2 separate regions of the Homo sapiens genome follow, and region 1 is linked to region 2. Evidence: promoter capture Hi-C in human tissues and cell types (Jung and others, 2019). All regions are on one chromosome and are shown on one strand. Each heading gives the region's core, a stretch centred on a gene start or on the middle of the fragment in contact. The rest is flanking DNA. Distances are from core to core; before and after follow the strand shown.

Evidence for each region. Contacts are between HindIII fragments. The study calls those that stand out against the background at their distance.
Region 1: a fragment that was not itself captured here is called in contact with the fragment with the promoter of SOAT1 in region 2 in 1 of the 25 tissues and cell types used here (liver).

What each region holds. Positions count from the first base shown.
Region 1 is chr1:178,999,293-179,004,104 of GRCh38, reverse strand. No RefSeq gene overlaps it. Among named protein-coding and RNA genes, the nearest start is that of FAM20B, 24 kb to the left of the region's middle. RefSeq lists a silencer at 1,070-1,169. The HindIII fragment of the contact is 5,572 bases long and covers 770-4,812 here.
Region 2 is chr1:179,291,620-179,296,201 of GRCh38, reverse strand. It overlaps SOAT1 (sterol O-acyltransferase 1), which reads right to left and starts at 2,405. Exons shown (of 16, transcript NM_003101.6): 1 at 2,266-2,405. RefSeq lists an enhancer at 1,701-2,208 and a silencer at 2,421-2,610. The HindIII fragment of the contact is 6,238 bases long and covers 1-3,495 here.

The sequences.
Region 1 (4,812 bases), core at 2,306-4,805, 290 kb after region 2:
CCTGGTGATTTGTTTACAAATCAAGGTCCTCCACATCTGAGAGGCTGGCTGTTTAGGGAACTGCCTATAATCTCAGCATTTTGGGAGGCCAAGGCATGGAACCAAGGCTGAAGTTCCATGTCACAGGAGGGAAGAATGGCGAGTGATGTGGCGAGAGCAAGGGGTGAGGTTAGGGAGGTCTGTGAAGCCAAGACACACATACCATTTTTATCCTGAGACCAGAGAAGAGTTGCTCAGTTTTGAGCAGTGGGATGCAATTTGCCTTGAGGCGATGGCTCTGCTACAGCGGGGAGAGTGGATTGAGCTGGGGGAGAAGGAAACAAGTTAGGTTTTAGTTCCTTTAGAAGCTGCAGGTTGCACTTTGGAGCCCAGCGGCCATGGTGTATTTTTATCATGTTCAAACCCCAGCTTGGCTTTTCACACACTGAGTGGCTGTGACTTAAGACACAGCTATTTAACTTTTCTGAGCCTCTCCTTCCTCATTTGTCCTAGGCATGGCACCTTCTTTTTATGAGACCTCAATCACAGCGTCAACAAAAAAACGAATGTCCAGAATGGAATCTGATTTTGATGTGTTAGGAATTCAGATGGAATCAGAAATGCTACAACTGGCTGGCTCTATACCGACTCCTAGCCCAGATGGCAGAACTCAGGCCCCTTTCCTTCTACACAGCTGTGTGGTCAGAGAAAGAGCCCAGAACTGGGGCTTAGGAATCCAGCTTCTAGAAAATTCAGCTCAGTGCTCCACCTAACCTGAAATCTCCGCAGAAAAGCAGCTCCACTCTCCAGCCCTCCATGCACATTCCATACCTGCCTGCCTGCCTGCCCCTGCTTAGGCTGTCTCCTGCACCTGAAGTGCACGTGTGCATGCGCGTGTTTACTCCACATTATGTTTGGGACACTGTGCTCAGTGCTTTGGGTGAGTGAGAAACACTCTCTTCTTACCCCATCAAAATCCATCCTACCCTTTGAGCTCATTTCCTACACGCCTTACCCATCTGAACTCAAATGGCCTGTGAAGTCATACCCCAGAGTTGAGAGCACCTGGTGGGGACATTTCGCCAGGGGAGAACGAGTCAGCAGGCCCTGATAGGGCCAGGTCCTCTCCCCAGGGTCTTGTGAAGTGAGCAGGGACAGAGCAAGGTCGGTCAGGGAGGGCCTGCAGGGGTCGTTTGGCCAAAGGACCGTGCCGGGGCCTTTCCTCTCTCCCCGTGCTGCACCTCCAAACATGACCACACGGGGTCAGTGTCCTTTCATGCTTGAGTTGGTGACCCCAGGGCTCTCTCTGCAGGGTCTTTCTGCCGAGTTGTAGCTAATTGTACAAAAACTTCCCCGAGGCTGGGAGCAAAGTAATCTTTTACGCCAGAATGACCCAAGGTCAGGGTGAAGAAGAAGAGCAGCAGATTGTTTTCACAGTCATGTTGTTTCACTGAGAGGGGCCCCTGGAGCCCTGCATGGATGCCCTACACAGGCCGGCTCAGAGCTCTCTGGCTCATTAGTAAGCACTCATTCGGGCAGACGGCTGGGGAGGCGGGAAGGCCAGCCACAACAGGGAAGACGTCTGAATTCCGCACACTTAAATCCCTCTGGAACATTCAGGGGTCCCAATCCACAGCAGACTATTCCTGCTGGTCCTGTTTTTTGTTTTTGTTTTTGTTTTTGTTTTGGAGATGGGGTATTGCTCTGTCACCCAGGCTGGAGTGCAGTGGGATGATCACAGCTCACTGCAGCCTCGGCTTCCCAGGCTCAAGCAGGCCTCAGCCTCCCGAGTAGCTGGGACTGTAGGCATGCGCCACCATGCCTGGGTTTTTAAAAATTATTTTTTGAGATAGGGTCTTGCTCTGTCGCCCAGGCTGAAGTGCAGTGGCACCTTCTTGGCTCACTGCAAACTCCGCCTCCCAGGTTCAAGCGATTCTCTTGCCTCAGCCTCTCGGGTATCTGGGATTACAGGCATGTGCCACCACGTCCTGCTAATTTTTGTATTTTTAGTAGATATGGGGCTTCACCATGGTGGCCAGACTGGTCACAAACTCCTGACCTCAAGTGATCCTCCCACCTCGGCCTCCCAAAGTGCTGGGATCACAGGAGTGAGCCACCGCGCCTGGCCCCATGCCTGGCTTTTAAAAAGTTTTTCTAGAGGCGAGGTTTCCCTATGTTGCCCAGGCTGGTCTTGAACTCCTGGGCTCAAGCAATTCTCCTGCCTTGGCCTCCCAAAATGCTGAGATTATAGGCATAAGCCACTGTGTCTGGCCACCAGTCCTGTTTTTAAAGTCTACAGCAGACTCAGCCTCAAGTACTGCTGCTGGTGGTTGAGACCTCAGCCCAGGCCACAAGGGCCAGGGGCTCACCCTTCACAGGAGGGTGGTGGGTACTGACACAATGGCCAACCACCCTGCCAGGCAGGACTTTGCTGGGGGAAAAGTCCCCAGAGGTCTAATCCAGCAAATGCATGTCTCACTGGCTCACCCACCCTCCTGCTCCCCAGAGAAGCAAAGAGTTCCTCAGCCTTATGTTGTTGATGGCTCTCAGGGCCTGAGATGAGGGCTGGGATGCGGACTTTGGAGAATGGGCTAGGGACCCTAGAGGCTGCTGAGGGCCAAGAATGGCTGTTGGTATAAATCCCTGGGCCCCACACCACAGTCCAGGCACAGATCAAGTTTTGTGAAGTCTGAAGCTTATATAATTTGGAGATCTCTTCAAGAAAAATAACACAAAATAAAAAAATACAAAGTTGAATATAAAAGTAAATATTTAGAATGAGAAAATAGATGACATCAAGTTATAAATTTTTAAAGGCTGACAAATACCACAAACATCACAAAATCCAGAAAATTCACGTTTTTATTAACTGATACACTTCTATAATATTTTTCCATGTGCTTCTGTCTGCCTACTCTTTGATGACCGCTTCAAATGCCAACAATTTTGTAGTGCCATTTTCTATAGAAATAATAGAAAGATAATTTAGTGTTTTTTCCAGCATAGTTGATCAAAAATTTCTGTAATATTGCTATAGGTTTATGGTTAACTCAAGAATTTCATACATTCTATTTTTTCAATCCCAACAAATAAATAAATGTACAGTGCGTTTATAATTGTATTCGCAGCAGTATTAAGAATAGTCACGACAGGTCAGGCATGGTGGCTCACACCTGTAATCCCAGCACTTTGGGAGGCCGAGGCGGGTGGATCACCTGAGGTCAGGAGTTCAAGACCAGCCTGACCAACATGGAAAAACCCCGTCTCTACTAAAAATACAAAAAATTATCCAGGCGTGGTAGTGCATGCCTGTAATCCCAGCTACTCAGGAGGCTGAGGCAGGAGAATCGCTTGAACCCAGGAGGCAGAGGTTGCATTGAGCTGAGATTGCACCGTTGCACTCCAGCCTGGGCAACAACAGCGAAACTCCATCTCAGAAAAAAAAAAAAAGGAAGAAAGAAAGAAAGAAAAAAAGGCCGGGCACGGTGGCTCACGCCTGTAATCCCAGCATTTTGGGAGGCCAAGGAGGGCAGATCACGAGGTCAAGAGATCAAGACCATCCTGGCCAACATGGTGAAACTCCGTCTCTACTAAAAATACAAAAATTAGCTGGGCATGGTGGCGGGCGCTTGTAGTCCTAGCTACTCAGGAGGCTGAGGCAGTATAACTGCTTGAACTCAAGAGGCAGAGGTTGCAGTGAGCCGAGATTGCATCACTGCACTCCAGCCTGGCAGCAGAGGGAGACTCCATCTCAAAAAAGAAAAAAAAAAATAGTCACAGCAAGGGGGAATATCCTGGAAGAAGAAAATGTTGACTAGACATCAGTGAAAAGCGAACCCTGCCTTTTACATTTACCATAGCTGAAAGAATTTTCTACAAACTAGCTTCTGACTCCATATGTTTTCAACATTCTTTCTGTTCCACTTCCCACCTACTTCCGGTGCCAGGTATTGAAAGTCACATTTATATTTGGATAGGACCTTTGGTATTAAGTCAATACAGTAGACAATGGAGATGCCCCTAGAAGCCATTCCTTGACTGAGGGAGGGGCTGCTAGAAACTATACTTGAAAGTGACTGCAAATCACATAAGTGAACATACTCTCAACTCAATTTCTCCTTAGATAGAGATTAAAAATGCCCACAGCCACTCCAAATACCACCCAACAAGAAAGGAAGTGTGACTGAGGGATGTCAGGGAGGGAAAAGACTGTAGTCTTAATTCTTAATTTTTTTTTTTTTTTTTTTGAGACGAGTCTTGCTCTGTCATCCAGGCTTGAGTACAGTGGCTTGATCTCAGCTCATTGCAACCTCTGCCTTCCATGTTCAAGCAATTCTCCTGCCTCAGCCTCCCAAGTAGCTGGGATTACAGGTGCCCACCACCACCCCCAGCTAATTTTTGTAGTTTTAGTAGAGACAGCGTTTCACCATGTTGGCCAGGCTGGTCTCGAACTCCTGACCTCAGGTGATCCGCCCGCCTCGGCCTCCCAAAGTGCTGGGATTACTTACAGGTGTGAGCCACCATGCCCAGCCTGTAGTCTTAATTTTTTATTTTTATTTTTTTAGAGACGGAAGGCTCACTAGGTTGTCCAGGCTGATCTTGAACTCGTGGCCTCAGGTGATCCCCCAGCCTTAGCCTTCTGAGTAGGTGGCACTACAGGCAAGTGCTACCACACATGGCTGTAGTCTTGATTGTTGTTAATATATCTCACTTTTCCAAATTTTGCAAATTTTAAACCAATTTCTAGGGGCCTCACCCAGGAACTTGGAAGGGTCCTTGCAAGCGAGGGGTGCTGAGGCTGAAGCTTCATTAGTTTCATGCTAAATCCGCCCC
Region 2 (4,582 bases), core at 1,156-3,655:
AGATCAGGAGTTTGAGACCAGTCTGGCCAACACAGTGAAACCCTCCCTGTCTCTACTAAAAATACAAAAATTAGCCGGGTGAGCTGGGCGCGGTGGCTCACGCCTGTAATCCCAGCACTTTGGGAGGCTGAGGCGGGTGGATCACCTGAGGTTGGAAGTTCGAGACCAGCCTGACCAGTAAGATCTGATCAGTCTTTACTAAAAAAAAAAAAAAAAAAAAAAAAAAAAAAAAAAATTAGCCGGGCGTGGTAGCACATGCCCGTAATCCCAGCTACTTGGGAGGCTGAGGCGGAGAATCGCTTGAACCCGGGAGGCGGAGGTTGCGGGGAGCCGAGATCGTGCCATTCCAGCCTGGGCAACAAGCGCCAAACTCCATCTCAAAAAAAAAAAAAAAAATTAGCCGGGCGTACTGGGACACGCCTGTAATCCCAGCTACTTGGGAGGCTGGGGCATGAATATCCCTTGAACCTGGGAGGCAAAGTTTCAAAAAGTTAGGCACAGTAAGAGATTAACAATATACTGTATTAAAATTCACTTGAACATGGTATCTCTCGAAATGTCTTATTGTACTCTGTTTCGCACCTCAGGTAGCTGAAACTACAGAAAGCAGTTAAGTGGGGATCACTGTATTTCTCATTCAAAAGTTCCTTCCTCTGTCCACCAACTTATTCATTCTTTCTCTGGGCCAAGTGCTGGACCAGACCCTGAAAATTACAACAGGCTAAACCAGCCTTCATGAAATGCACTAGCAGAGGAAACAAAGCAACTAATTCATTACAATTAATGATCAACTTCTGCTAAGGAGAATAAAGAGTTCATGGAGGGCTTAATGGGGATGGGGTGATTTCCAGAGGAAGTGATATGTGGGCTGATATCTGAGGCAGGTATAAGAGTTGGAGGGAGGGAGAGAATACAGCATTAGAGGTGGAGGAAACTCCTAAAAGCCAAGAGAGGAAAGAAAATGAAGCTTTCCAGTAACAAAAATAAAGCCAGTGTGGCATGAACCTGGAAAGCCAGAAGGAAAGTGGGCCAAATGAACCAGAGATAGAGTGTGCTCACTCAGTAGGTCTTTATCCTAAAAGACTGCGAAACCTCAGATGCATTCTAAGCATGTGATTCACTAAAACACGTGCATTTCTAAACGATAATTCAGTGCCACAGAGCTCCTTCCAAAACCCATTCTCACACCCAGACAACGCACAGACTTCCTTAACAAGTCATTCACTGACACCGCCCAACTTTTAAAAAGAAAAAAAAAAAGCTTCAAATTGAATTCTACTTCAAGGAAGAGGAAATCAAGCAGGCTGAAAAAAAGAAAAAAGTGGTTTAAACAGGTGGCAGCCACTTAAATATTAAAAAGTGACCAACAGGCCAGGCGCGGTGGCTCACGCCTGTAATCCCAGCACTTTGGGAGGCCGAAGCGGGCGGATCACTTGAGGTCAGGAGTTTGAGACCAACCTGGTCCAACATGGTGAAACCCCGTCTCTACTAAAACTACAAAAATTACCTGGGCGTGGTGGCGCACGCCTGTAATCCCAGCTACTCAGGAGGCTGAGGCACAAGAATCGCTTGAACCCGGGAGGCAGAGGTTGCAGTGAGCCGAGATTGCGCCACTGCACTCCAGCCTTGCGACACAGCGAGACTCCGTCTCAAACAAACAAAAGTGACCAACGAACTTAACCTAAATATATATACGGAGAATAAAGTTTATATAGTTGTTTCTCACTTAGAAATAACCTTTCAATATACATATTATTTAAATTACATGACCATTAACACTTAGGGAAAACAGAAACTTACCTACATCCTAATATTTTACAATAAAACATGAGCTTGATTAAAGGTTCTGGTGCCCCTACAGATTTTCATGTCTTGCTAATACCATCCTTCCCTTCACACATTTTCTCTAAATCATTAAAAAGCTGACTTCCTGAGTGCATTTTTGGTTTCGCTTTTTAAAGAATAAAACGTCTTCTAATTCCTAACTTTCTTTACTACTGACTTGAGAGATGCCACGAGATTTGCGGAACACCAAACCAGCGTGCAGGGTTTAAAAGGCTGCCCGTGACCCGGGCGCCTGACGGTAACTTTCCCGCCCTCCCCTCCCCAACTCCCCTGCAGTCGCCGAGCCTCGCCTTCTCCGCAGCACAGCCCAGGACAAGGCCGGGCCGGAGCTGCTGCCGCCACCGCTTCTCCCTTCCCCGCGGGCTGAGGCCGGTGGACCCAAGCGGGAAGCGAGGAGAGGCGCGGGAGCACCACCGTTACCTGAGGCCCGCGCCCGGCAGCGGGCACTTCGGCCAAGAGGGCAGAGCCGGGAAGCGGTCACAGAGCAGCCAGCAGGAAGGTCGACTCCGGGAAGCTCTCCTGGCGCCCAGGGCCCGCAACGTCGCCTGCTAAGCTAAAGCGCCGGACAGCCCGGCCCCTACGCCCCCTGCCTCCGAGCACCGCTGCGTCACGCGCAGGGCCACCTCCGGCTGAGCATCCTATTGGTGGTCCCCAGGTTGCCAGGCTCCGCCCACCTCCCCGCCCCTTCCCGGGCGCGCGGGTCCCCGGCGCCAGTGCTCGCAGGCTGGCCCTGGCAACCTGCCAAGGAAGCTTCTCACCCGGACATCATGATACCGGCGACAACATCTTGCTTGACACTTCCACCCCAGCAGTAGAATGTGCAGCCAAAACGGGACTGCGACAACTCCCTGCAAGCCCGAAACGGCACCCTGCGTGGTAGCATGGAGCTGCAGGGGCGTTTGGCTCCTAGGCCGACTGGAAGAAGCCGCTTCTGGAGCTGTGGATCATTGCAGTTTGAACTGACCATCCAGGAACAACGTAGAACTAGCCAGAAGCAAGAATCGCTGGCTTATCTGCACACCAAGATTCGTGCCTTTATCAGGAGATTCCTTACCGTTTGAAAACCAGCGTCCTTCAGCAACATTCAAACTAGATAAGGGGAAAAAACCTGCACCAAATAATAAAACACACCAAATAATGGAACAACTAAGTAATATTTAAGGGCCCTTGAGGCCAGGTGCGGTGGCTCACGCCTGTAATCCCAACACTTTGGGAGACCGAGGTGGCTGGGTCACCTGAGGTTAGGATCGAGACCAGCCTGACCAACATGGTGAAACCCCGTCTCTACTAAATACAAAAAATTAGCCGGGCTTGGTGGCGCGCGCCTGTAATCCCAGCTATTCGGGAGGCTGAGGCAGGAGGATTGCTTGAACCCGGAAGCCAGAGGTTGCAGTGAGCCTAGATTGTGCCATTGCACTCCAGCCTGGGCAATAAGAGCTAAACTCCTTCTCAAAAAAAGTTTTAAAAATAAAATAAACAAAGGGCCCTCGTGACTTCATAATCAAAAGAAGAATGATGCAGAGAGATTTGGGACAGAGATTAAATACAACAGTTAATCGCTTGGAATTTGTGAAGGCAGAGGTGTACGTAAATTTAGGGTAAAGGTAGGTGAAAAGGCAATGATGAGAGGAGCAGAGACTGAAGAGTCGCACTCACAGCCTGCAAACTAATACCAGCTAGCCTGGCCTGACTAATCGCTTCTTCCCCACTCCTCCCCAGGACAAAAATCCCTGAACAAACAGATGAGGTTTAGCAGAACTGACTACTCTCTGGGTCCTTTAAACAAAGTGGATTTGTACACGTTCCCTTGGCCACCCAGCAGGCTGCACTGTTCACTCAAAGCAGAAATGGCCCTCAGCATCCAGTCGAGTTTAGTACTGGCTGTCATTGGCAGATCTGCTCCGTTTGGCCTCTTCTACAACTGTGATTGCCACGTGTGCTGACTAGTTGGTGACAGGGTCTGGTAGACCCCCAGCTGCTTCCCCTCCCCACTCCCACTAGTTATAGAGCAGTAGGAACATAGGCACTCATTTCTATTGGGTCTCTGTTGGCTACCTTCTATATACACCAAGATGACTGGCCTTTTCACTGTTTGATTCATTCATTCAAAAAATATTGATAGTATTCTTGGTGCTAGAAATACAGTGGTGAATAAACAGAAGAAGCCCCTGCACTTAGAGGCTTATGTTCTGCAGGACTAGGTATGAAAGGAAACAAACAGGTGGCTCAAGCCTATAATCCCAGCACTTTGGGAGGCTGAGGCAGGAGGATCACTTTGAGGCCAGGAGTCCAAGACCAGCCTGAGCAACATAGTGAGACTCCCTCTCTACAGAATTTAAAAACAACAACAACAACAACAACAATGACAACAAAATTTGCTGGGAATTGTGGCAGGCCCCTATGGTCCCAGCTACTCGGGAGGCTGAGATAAGAGGATTGCTTGTGGTGGGGGATGGGGGGTGAGGGACGGAGGATGCAGTGAGCCAAAAAATCATGCCACTGCACTGCAGCCTGGTCAACACAGTGGGACTCTGTCTCAAACAACAAAAGCTTATGTTTCTAATGAAGAATATAAATAATAAAACGAATAGATGAGATAATCACTGGCAGTGATAAGTACTGAGCAGAAAACAAAACAGAATGGTCAGGGAAGGATTTTCTGAGGAGATAATTCAGGAGCTAAGACCTAAATGACAAGAAGGAGCCAGCCAAGCCAACCATGGGGAGGAAGAACATT